Regions from separate parts of the Homo sapiens genome. Here all the other regions are linked to region 3. Evidence: promoter capture Hi-C in 16 types of primary human blood cells and fetal thymus (Javierre and others, 2016). All regions are on one chromosome and are shown on one strand. Each heading gives the region's core, a stretch centred on a gene start or on the middle of the fragment in contact. The rest is flanking DNA. Distances are from core to core; before and after follow the strand shown. Region 1 has its middle 79 kb from the start of CHD6. Region 2 overlaps STK4 (serine/threonine kinase 4). Region 3 holds the start of SRSF6 (serine and arginine rich splicing factor 6).

What was found. The method cuts DNA at HindIII sites, captures the fragments that hold promoters and counts their contacts. A CHiCAGO score of 5 or more calls a contact.
Region 1: a fragment that was not itself captured here is called in contact with the fragment with the promoter of SRSF6 in region 3 in 2 of 17 cell types (erythroblasts and M0 macrophages); the score reaches 6.6 in erythroblasts.
Region 2: a contact is called between a fragment that was not itself captured here and the fragment with the promoter of SRSF6 in region 3, in 1 of 17 cell types (fetal thymus). The highest score is 6.0, in fetal thymus.

The regions. Positions count from the first base shown.
Region 1 is chr20:41,696,404-41,699,103 of GRCh38, forward strand. No RefSeq gene overlaps it. Among named protein-coding and RNA genes, the nearest start is that of CHD6, 79 kb to the left of the region's middle. The HindIII fragment of the contact is 500 bases long and covers 1,152-1,651 here.
Region 2 is chr20:44,966,912-44,969,639 of GRCh38, forward strand. The region is part of intron 1 of STK4 (serine/threonine kinase 4); the gene reads left to right. Among named protein-coding and RNA genes, the nearest start is that of STK4, 1.8 kb to the left of the region's middle. RefSeq lists an enhancer at 816-895 and a silencer at 1,356-1,485. The HindIII fragment of the contact is 2,275 bases long and covers 165-2,439 here.
Region 3 is chr20:43,456,621-43,459,508 of GRCh38, forward strand. SRSF6 (serine and arginine rich splicing factor 6) reads left to right here and starts at 1,276. Exons shown (of 6, transcript NM_006275.6): 1 at 1,276-1,520; 2 at 1,741-1,889. The coding sequence starts at 1,414. RefSeq lists enhancers at 613-932, 993-1,152, 1,074-2,021, 1,453-1,552 and silencers at 1,693-1,792, 1,803-2,062. The HindIII fragment of the contact is 2,232 bases long and covers 156-2,387 here.

The sequences.
Region 1 (2,700 bases), core at 152-2,651, 1.8 Mb before region 3:
AGGCTCTGCCTAAAGATTACCCAACTAGTAATGGAGAACCTCGGTAGGAAATTGGGTCTTTCTGATCTCAAAGGTTGAGCCCCTCAATATTCCTTCTGTTCTTTTTGCCCCATCTGGCACCCGTTACTAGCACAGAAGCCCGGAAAGTTTAAGAAACAACTTCTGTCTCTGGTGTGTCATTTGTACCTCTGAGGACATCAACTTGGAACAGCCATTGTACCAGAGTTCTGTCTTTTCCAGGAATCAGTGACTCATATCAGTCTCTGCTGATATCAGCTGCTGAAGGGCTTAGGAGAACTGGTAGGACTCAGAGGAGCAGAAAATCCAGGAAAGGGCACTCTTGGCCAGTGCTGTTTAATAGAACTCTTTCAGATGAGTAAAATGTTCCATATTTGTGCTTTCCAGTATGGGAATGTCTCAAGTTCCTTTTTAGACAGTATCTCCAGCCCCCTCATTGGTTCCTGACTTCAGGCTGTTTCCAAGACATTCAACTTGAGACTACAGATCCCTGGGCTAGGTCTTCAAGGGCCCTCCAGATCCAAGCTATGCCTCAGTTTTAGCTGAAGTTGTGTCCAAGAACACAGGTCAGGGTACAGGGAGATGGGATACGTATAGCTCCAGACATGGCCAGTGCATTGTTGATATTGCCACCCCAGCAAACTGCCTAGAACTTGGCCCAGAGCAGATGCTAGGTTAACATGGTAGATGAGTGAATTTACTTTCTCTTCCCCAGATTGGGGCTCCCTCACCTACTGCCATTGGCTTCTGGAATCCTTCTCTATCATTGTGAACTGATGACTTGCCACATGGTGAAGATTAACGAAGCCAGTGCTTTGAACCACCACCCTGACATTTTGGGGGTAGGTCAGGGGGGTAGCTACAAAACCAGCTAGTAATAATTCATTGAAAATATGCTGGATCCAGCATTTTTATGTAATGACCTCATTTTTCTTGTGAAACCCTGTGTGCAAAATGAAAGCCCAAATGAGCATCTGCTATATACAGTTAGGAGTAGGGTGGTGCTGGGGAAAGAGGACTGATCTAGGAGTTACCCTGGACCTGGGGCTCATAGGCTGTATGACCTTGAACAAGATGCTCAATGCTTCTGTGCCCCAGTTTTCTCTCAAGTAAAATAAAAACATTGGACTCTAAGCTTCTTTCTACAGTTAATGTGAATGTTTAAAAAATGGCTGGTCACATCTGTGATCAACCTACATTAAGCACCTTTCAAGTGATTACTTGCTTCAATTAGGTCCATTTTCATTGTTTACTTTTACTAACAGTTTTTTTTCTTAACCCTTCCACTTCCAGTGCCTTCCTCATTCTTCACTATTTTTTGATTGTTTCTTCAGATTCTGATAAATCATCTTCATTTCCAGCCATTGAATCACCTGCTCCTTGGCCCTGCCTAGAGGCTCTTTAATCCTCAGCAGTTTCAATTTCCTGACAAAGCACACAGAGGGGGCCCGGTCTCCCTCCTCTTCCCTTGCCCACTACTCACCACTCTCCCATCTAAAACACATCTGAAAAATCAGGGAGGTTTCTATTCTGGCAGTTGTCTCTCTCACCACTAGATGGCACATGCAGGTCATCAGTCTTTTGGGCAAAAACTAATTTTATTGTGTATTTAAACTCCATCTCAATCCACAAAAGCTTTGAGGGGAATTACAAAAGTACAAAATATACAAAAGGATAAGACAAAAAGTTGAGGTAGCTGGAGAAAATAGAAAACAAGTGGAAGAAATAACTCCAGGATGACATTAGCTCAAAAAGATCAACACCAGCAAAGGCTTACACATTTGGCTCCGAGCTTCCAAATGGCCAAAGTAAAGAGGGAAATGTGAGTGGTAATAAAATTCTAGATTTTATGTGAGAAAAACAAATATTTGGGAGAAGCTCAACTTTTCCTGACCCTGAGACCAAAGAGATATTTTTCCCGTGGGTCAGCTGACTGAACAGTGATGCAATACAGCGGTGACTTAATTGGAGCTGTTTCTTATAATGTCCTTTTATGCAGGCCTATGGCATGACGCTCAAGTATAATTGAGGAAAAGCAGTTCTACTGGGCTTAAAACATGAGTTTCCAGGACAGAGTAAATTCACTGTTTGTTGTGGGCCTCCGTAGTTTGAAACAGTGAAATCTGCACACCTCCCTGTTCCAGAGTTTAGGTGGAGTTTGGGGGAGAGGGGGTTCTTCTTGGAGACTGTGGTAAGCAGTTTCTAAGAGGGCCACCAATGATCCTGCCTCCTGGTTTTCAAACCCTATCTGGTCCCCTCCCATGTAGCAGCAGTAATGGTCTGTGTCACCAGCAGAATGCAGGAGAAGCAGGGCCGGGCATAGTGGCTTATGCCTATAATCCCAGCACTTTGGGAGGCCGAGGCAGGAGGATTGCTTGAGCCCAGGAATTAGAGACCAGCCTGGACAACAAAATGAGACCTCGTCTCTACAAAAAATACAAAAACTAGCCAGGCATGGTGGTGTGAGTCTGTAGTCCCAGATACTACGGAGGCTGAGGCGGGATAATTGCTTAAGCCCAGGAGGTTGAGGCTGCAGTGAGCTGTGTTCATGCCATTGCACTCCAGCCTGGGTGACAGAGCAAGACCCTGTCTCGAACAAACAAACAAAAACAAAAACACCCCACCAAAAACAGAATACAGGAGAAATTATGGTATGTCACTTCTCAGATCAGGTTAAAATAC
Region 2 (2,728 bases), core at 52-2,551, 1.5 Mb after region 3:
GGGACTCACGGAGGTGGGGGCGAATGCTGAAGCAGGGTGAGAATCTGTGAGGGATCTCTTTAAGGGGGTGGATCGAGAACTGGCCAAGAGGAAGGCCGGGTGGACTTTCTAAGGGTCTGAAGTCCCACTTGAGGGGTGCGGTGGGGGGATCTGTGGAGGGGAAAAGCTTTGCGCCTAAGGCTGAAAGCATGCGAGGAAAGGTTGAGGGTCTAGCAAGGGAGGGGATGGTGGAGGGTAGCATTTCAGAGGATGCTGTTGGTGGTGTCCCCACTGTAGGATGGCATCTTTTATTACTGATGTTCAGTGTCTTCCTAATGGTCTTCACATCCTCCTCAGCTCTTCAGAACCTGACATTGGGAGGTAGGTAAGGAAATAAGAGGATATTTTCGAGATGGGGAGACTGAGGTCCAGAGTAGTTGGGAAGTGTTTCCTTCTTTACTCCGGGTCACTGAACCCTGCCAGTCTGTGCCCTTTTCAGGCCTCAGTTGTTTTGTGAATATCAGCACCAAATCCTAGTGGTACCTGGAATTGCTTTAGTTCAAGATCAGGATGGTGGCTGATCCTAGAAAATCTCAACTCCTGGATTTCCCTTGTGGACATCCCGGGTCTTTTGCCACTCTACCACATCTGGAGAAAAGTAGGGACTAGAGACCGAAGGAGTCATGCTTCTCTGAGGTTCAGTGTGGTTACTTCTATTTCACAGAGACGTCTGACTTCCTGCAGCAGAATGAGCTCTAAAGAAGGAAGTGTTCAGGGTGTGGAAGTGCAGGGCAACCAAGAGGTGAAGAGAAGGGATTGACTGCCTGGGCAGCACTCTTAGGGGTTGTTTGAGCTTGGGGATGTTTGAGGTGCACAAACATTGCAGAAGGCAAATAGGTGGTTGGGATGGGCTTTGGATTCACCCTAGCGTAGTGTGCTGAGACTGTAATAGTAATGATTATTACACTCATATTGCACTTACCGGGTGCCAGGCACTGTTCTAAGTGCTTTCCATGTGTCCTGCTGAAGCATATGAAATTGCTGATATTTGACCATTTTTGAACCATAAAAACCTCATTTGAACTCATTTGAACCTCACAACAATCCTGTGTGGTAGATATCCCTATATGTCTGTTTTACAGATGATAAAACTGAGATACAGAGGGTAGTGATTTGCTGGGAGAAGTCATAGCAAGTAAGAGACAGAGCTAGGATTTTAATGTCTATGGGGTCTGGTCCAAAGTCCATGTTCTTTTTTTTTTTTTGAGACGGAGTCTCACTCTGTCGCCCAGTCTGAAGTGCAGTGGCGCAATCTCGGCTCACTGCTACTTCCGCCTTCTGGGTTCAAGCGATTCTCCTGCCTCAGCCTCCTGTGTAACTGGGACCACAGGTGCGTGCCACCACGCCTGGCTAATTTTTTGTAGTTTTAGTAGAGACGGGGTTTCACCGTGTTAGCCAGGATGGTCTCTATCTCCTGACCTCGTGATCCGCCCACCTTGGCTTCTCAAAGTGGTGGGATTACAGGCGTGAGCCACCGGGCCCGGCCATGCTCTTAACTGCCTCACTCTGATGCCTCTCTAAAAGTACCCCTGTTTCACAGGTCTCTGTGTATGTTAGCAGATATTTACTATAGTACCATAGTGATCCAATTATGAATGCACACTAGTTATGTTTCTTTCTGAACTATGTTCGTTCGTTCTTCTTGGTTTCTTTCTCCGAGGCCTTGGTTTAATTGAAAAGAGGATTAGGAATCTGAGTTTTGTTTCCCCCTTTGCCTTGTCTTACATAATCTTGAGCAAAGGACTAAAGTTTCTTGGCATGCTCATTCCTGTACCTTTTGGATTTTAAAAAATGTATTAAAAGCACAAGAGAAGAGCATTGCAGGACTGGGTTCTGAAGTGGCTGGTGATTCCCAGCTCATTGTAACTAGTAGATTGCCTAATTTGAAGCAGATCAATTTTATTATCACGTGTATCAGTTTATCAGGACAAGACAAAGTGTCATGGAGTGGGTGGTTTAAGCAACGTAAATTTATTCTCTCACTGTTCTGAAGGCTAGAGATCTGAAATCAAGGCATTGTCAGAGTTGTTTCTTTTGACGCCTTTGCTTGACTCGTAGATGGCCATCTCCCTGTGTCTCCATGTTCTTCCTTCTGTACCTGTCAGTGTCCTAATCTCCTCTTATAAGGACACCAGTCATACTGGATTAGGGCATGCCCATATGACCTCATTTTATCTTAATTACCTCTTTAAAGGCCTTGTCTCCAAATACAGTCACATTCTTAGGTGGTGGGTATTAGGACTTCAGCATATGAATTGGGGTAAGCTGGGGACACAGTTTTATTATGTAAGATTTTGTCCATTTATCATGTATAGTTGTTGTAATCCATATCAAATTCTGTGTGGAAAAAGAAATAGTTACACATAAAATGAACTTTATGGGAGTTCTGAAATGGGAGAAAGCTTTGAGAATTAGCCAGACCTGTAAGTGACTACTTCATAGACACCATTACTTGTGTTTGGAAAGATACAGGTGTCTTTTCAGAAATTCAGATGGCATGTGTTTCCAATAACCCCAGTGCAGGAAATGCCCTTTGTGTTCGTGAGTTTGACATTTGTGTGTGTGTGTGATTAAGTGATGACAGATTGGTGTCTCATATAGGAGTTAATAATTTTAAAAAATGAGTTGCCATTAGATTAATGTTATAGTGGAAGGCGTAGAGTGCATTCCTGGGATGCTGGCCATCCAC
Region 3 (2,888 bases), core at 26-2,525:
GCCTCAGCTTCCCAAGGTGTGGGGATTACAGACTCGTATTTTTTATTTATCTAACTTTAAGCACGGCCTCTACCTCCCCCAGTCGTGACAAACAACGTTTCCCTCTAGACTTCCAAATAGCTCCAGGAGGACAAAACCCCCCTTTTTCAACCCGAAGCTTAAGGATATTGAGGTTGCACCACTCAAAACAGAGCAGGAATACATAAATATCTAAAGAGCTGGTGTTATCTCAGTGATATCCCTTTTTTTTTTTTTTTTTTTTTTTAGCTTCGGCGGTGACACCTACTCTCCTGGTCTTCTCCCTACCTCGCTAGTCACTCCTCCCAGTCTCCTTTCCTGCGCTTAAATTTCAGAGTACCCCAGGCGTTGGCCTGGGTCTTCCGCTCTCCACTTAAACTTACTCCTTTGAGGTTTTCAATCTGGTTCTACAGCTTTAAATAGCATCTCCATTGATAAACTCACAAAATAAGGCACTTTCAAGTCAGTGGAGGAAATGATAGTATTGGGACAAAGGACTTTCCATACACGGGAGAAAAAAAATCGTTCGTCGCTGTGGGAGGGCTGCCGGGTCTCGTCCACGCTCCCTTTTGAGCACCTACAGTGAGCGTAGGATTGCCACGGATAGCCCAATCCACAAGTGAGTCAAGCTGCCAGGGCTCCAAGAAAGACCCATGGAGGGAGAGGGGAACGTCCGGGGAGGCGAAGGCTGCGAGTGAGACCCGGAGAGGCTGATGTCGGCGGGTCTGCGCGCTCGCAACGCGACCTCCGCCCGGTCAGCAAGACCTCGGCGCGCGATCCTCAGATTCTGCGAAACAAGACAAGCGACTGGGTCCGAGACCGCGGTCCCCATCAAAACGAGCATCAACCAATCGCTGGGAGAAATCCGCAGCCTCGTTTTAAGCCACCAAGCAGAGACCGCGGCGACCTATTATGATAACCTCGAGAACCAATGAAAAACGGGGATTCGCTCAGCCCGCCTCCCGAGCTTCAACCCCGAAGAGATCGCGCACAGTTTTATAAAAGGTACAAATTAGAAAGCAGTTCTGCGGCTGGATTAGAGACATTGTGTTTTCAAAGACGGTGGGGAGGGCTAGAGAAAAATCCTAGAAGCTAGCAAGACCGCACTACACCGAAACGTCGCGGGCAACGGACTCGCCAGTCACCATCTAGCCCAGGGACGACGCGGGACGGACGTGCCGCTGCGCGCTGACATCACGCTCCAGGCCCCGCCCCACCGGCCGCCCATATAGCGAAAGCCTGGCGCGCGCGCGCGCCATTGTGTGGCTGGACTCGGCCGCCCCTGTGGTGTGAGGCGCGTGTTCGGGCTCTTGCCGTCCCCGCACCCGCACCGCGGTTACTGGCTTGCGGTCCGCCGTTCGACAACCAGCCCTTGGGTCCCCGCCCGCCACGGACATGCCGCGCGTCTACATAGGACGCCTGAGCTACAACGTCCGGGAGAAGGACATCCAGCGCTTTTTCAGTGGCTATGGCCGCCTCCTCGAAGTAGACCTCAAAAATGGGTGAGTCGGGCCTGGGCGCCCGCGCCCAGCGTCCCAGGCCTGGTGGCGGCGGGAACTCTCCAAGGAAAGAAGCGGCCAAGGCCGCGGCGCCGCGTGGCAGGGCCTCAAAGATGGCGACGGCGCGGCGTCGCGGGGGCGCGCGGTGGGGTACGGGCGCGCGCACGTGCGCGTCCTGGCTAACGACTCCCCCGCGGTTGTCCGGCCCTCGCACCGCCCCTAGGTACGGCTTCGTGGAGTTCGAGGACTCCCGCGACGCCGACGACGCCGTTTACGAGCTGAACGGCAAGGAGCTCTGCGGCGAGCGCGTGATCGTAGAGCACGCCCGGGGCCCGCGTCGCGATCGCGACGGCTACAGCTACGGAAGCCGCAGTGAGTCCCACCCCCGCGCGCTCCGCGCCCTTGGGGACCCTGGGGGCGGGGGTGGGTGGGGTGGGGCCTCCCAGCCCGGGCAGGCGCGAGGGCCGGGGGTCGTTTGACTTGGGTGTCCCCGAGCCCCGCTGCCTTCACGTCTGCCCGGGGCAGCCATGGGACGCCGGAGCGCGGGGATTGGGTTTGGGTGTTTGGTTTTGTTTATTTGCCAAGTTGGGAGGTGGGTGGCTTCTTCTGGCCCCTTGTCAGCACTGTCACGGGTTCTTCCCACAGAGGAAGTAAGGGGTGGCTGTATTTGTTGTATTCTCCTTACTTACCTATCAGTGCATTAGTTAGAGGTTCGGGGGCAGGCTCGGGTGGAGGTGGGGTAGGGGGCGCGGGGGACGGGGAAGGGGAGGAGCATAAAGTATAGGTCTTAAAGCTATGGAACTTGATGGGGGCCAAAGAATGTACTATTTTTAAGTAATGTGGTATTGTACCACAAAGTAGATCTAAATAAGCTTTATGCTGTATTTGAACTAATTGGGGCATGTTATTGGGAGGAGGTTGGGGGGATTTTTGGTTATGTTAAATGTTTGATGTTTAAATTGTTGCATGTTGAATTCAAACTTTTTAACAAGTCCTTGATGTTTCAATTTGAAAGTGACCAATGGGGCTGAGGCTGTGTCCACTGAGGCTAAGATGACTGCCTTTCCTGATTGGCCTTGGCTTTTCCATACATTGTGTGACCCTTGCCCTATGACCCTTTGGCTGACCTTACCGGAAGCCATGACGACAGCAGCCTTTTGCCATTAGACGCAGGGTGATGGTGAGGATTCCAAGGGTTAGACAAAACTGGTTAATCTGAACTAGGTGACTGTTACCTTGCGTGTTTTGTGGCCAAACCACCACCAAAAACCTCACACTGTGATGTAAGTACTTAGTGTAAAACTAGTAAACATTTTTGTAAAATGTAGAAATGCATGTAATCAGTTAAGTTTTATATTTTACAATGTTCTG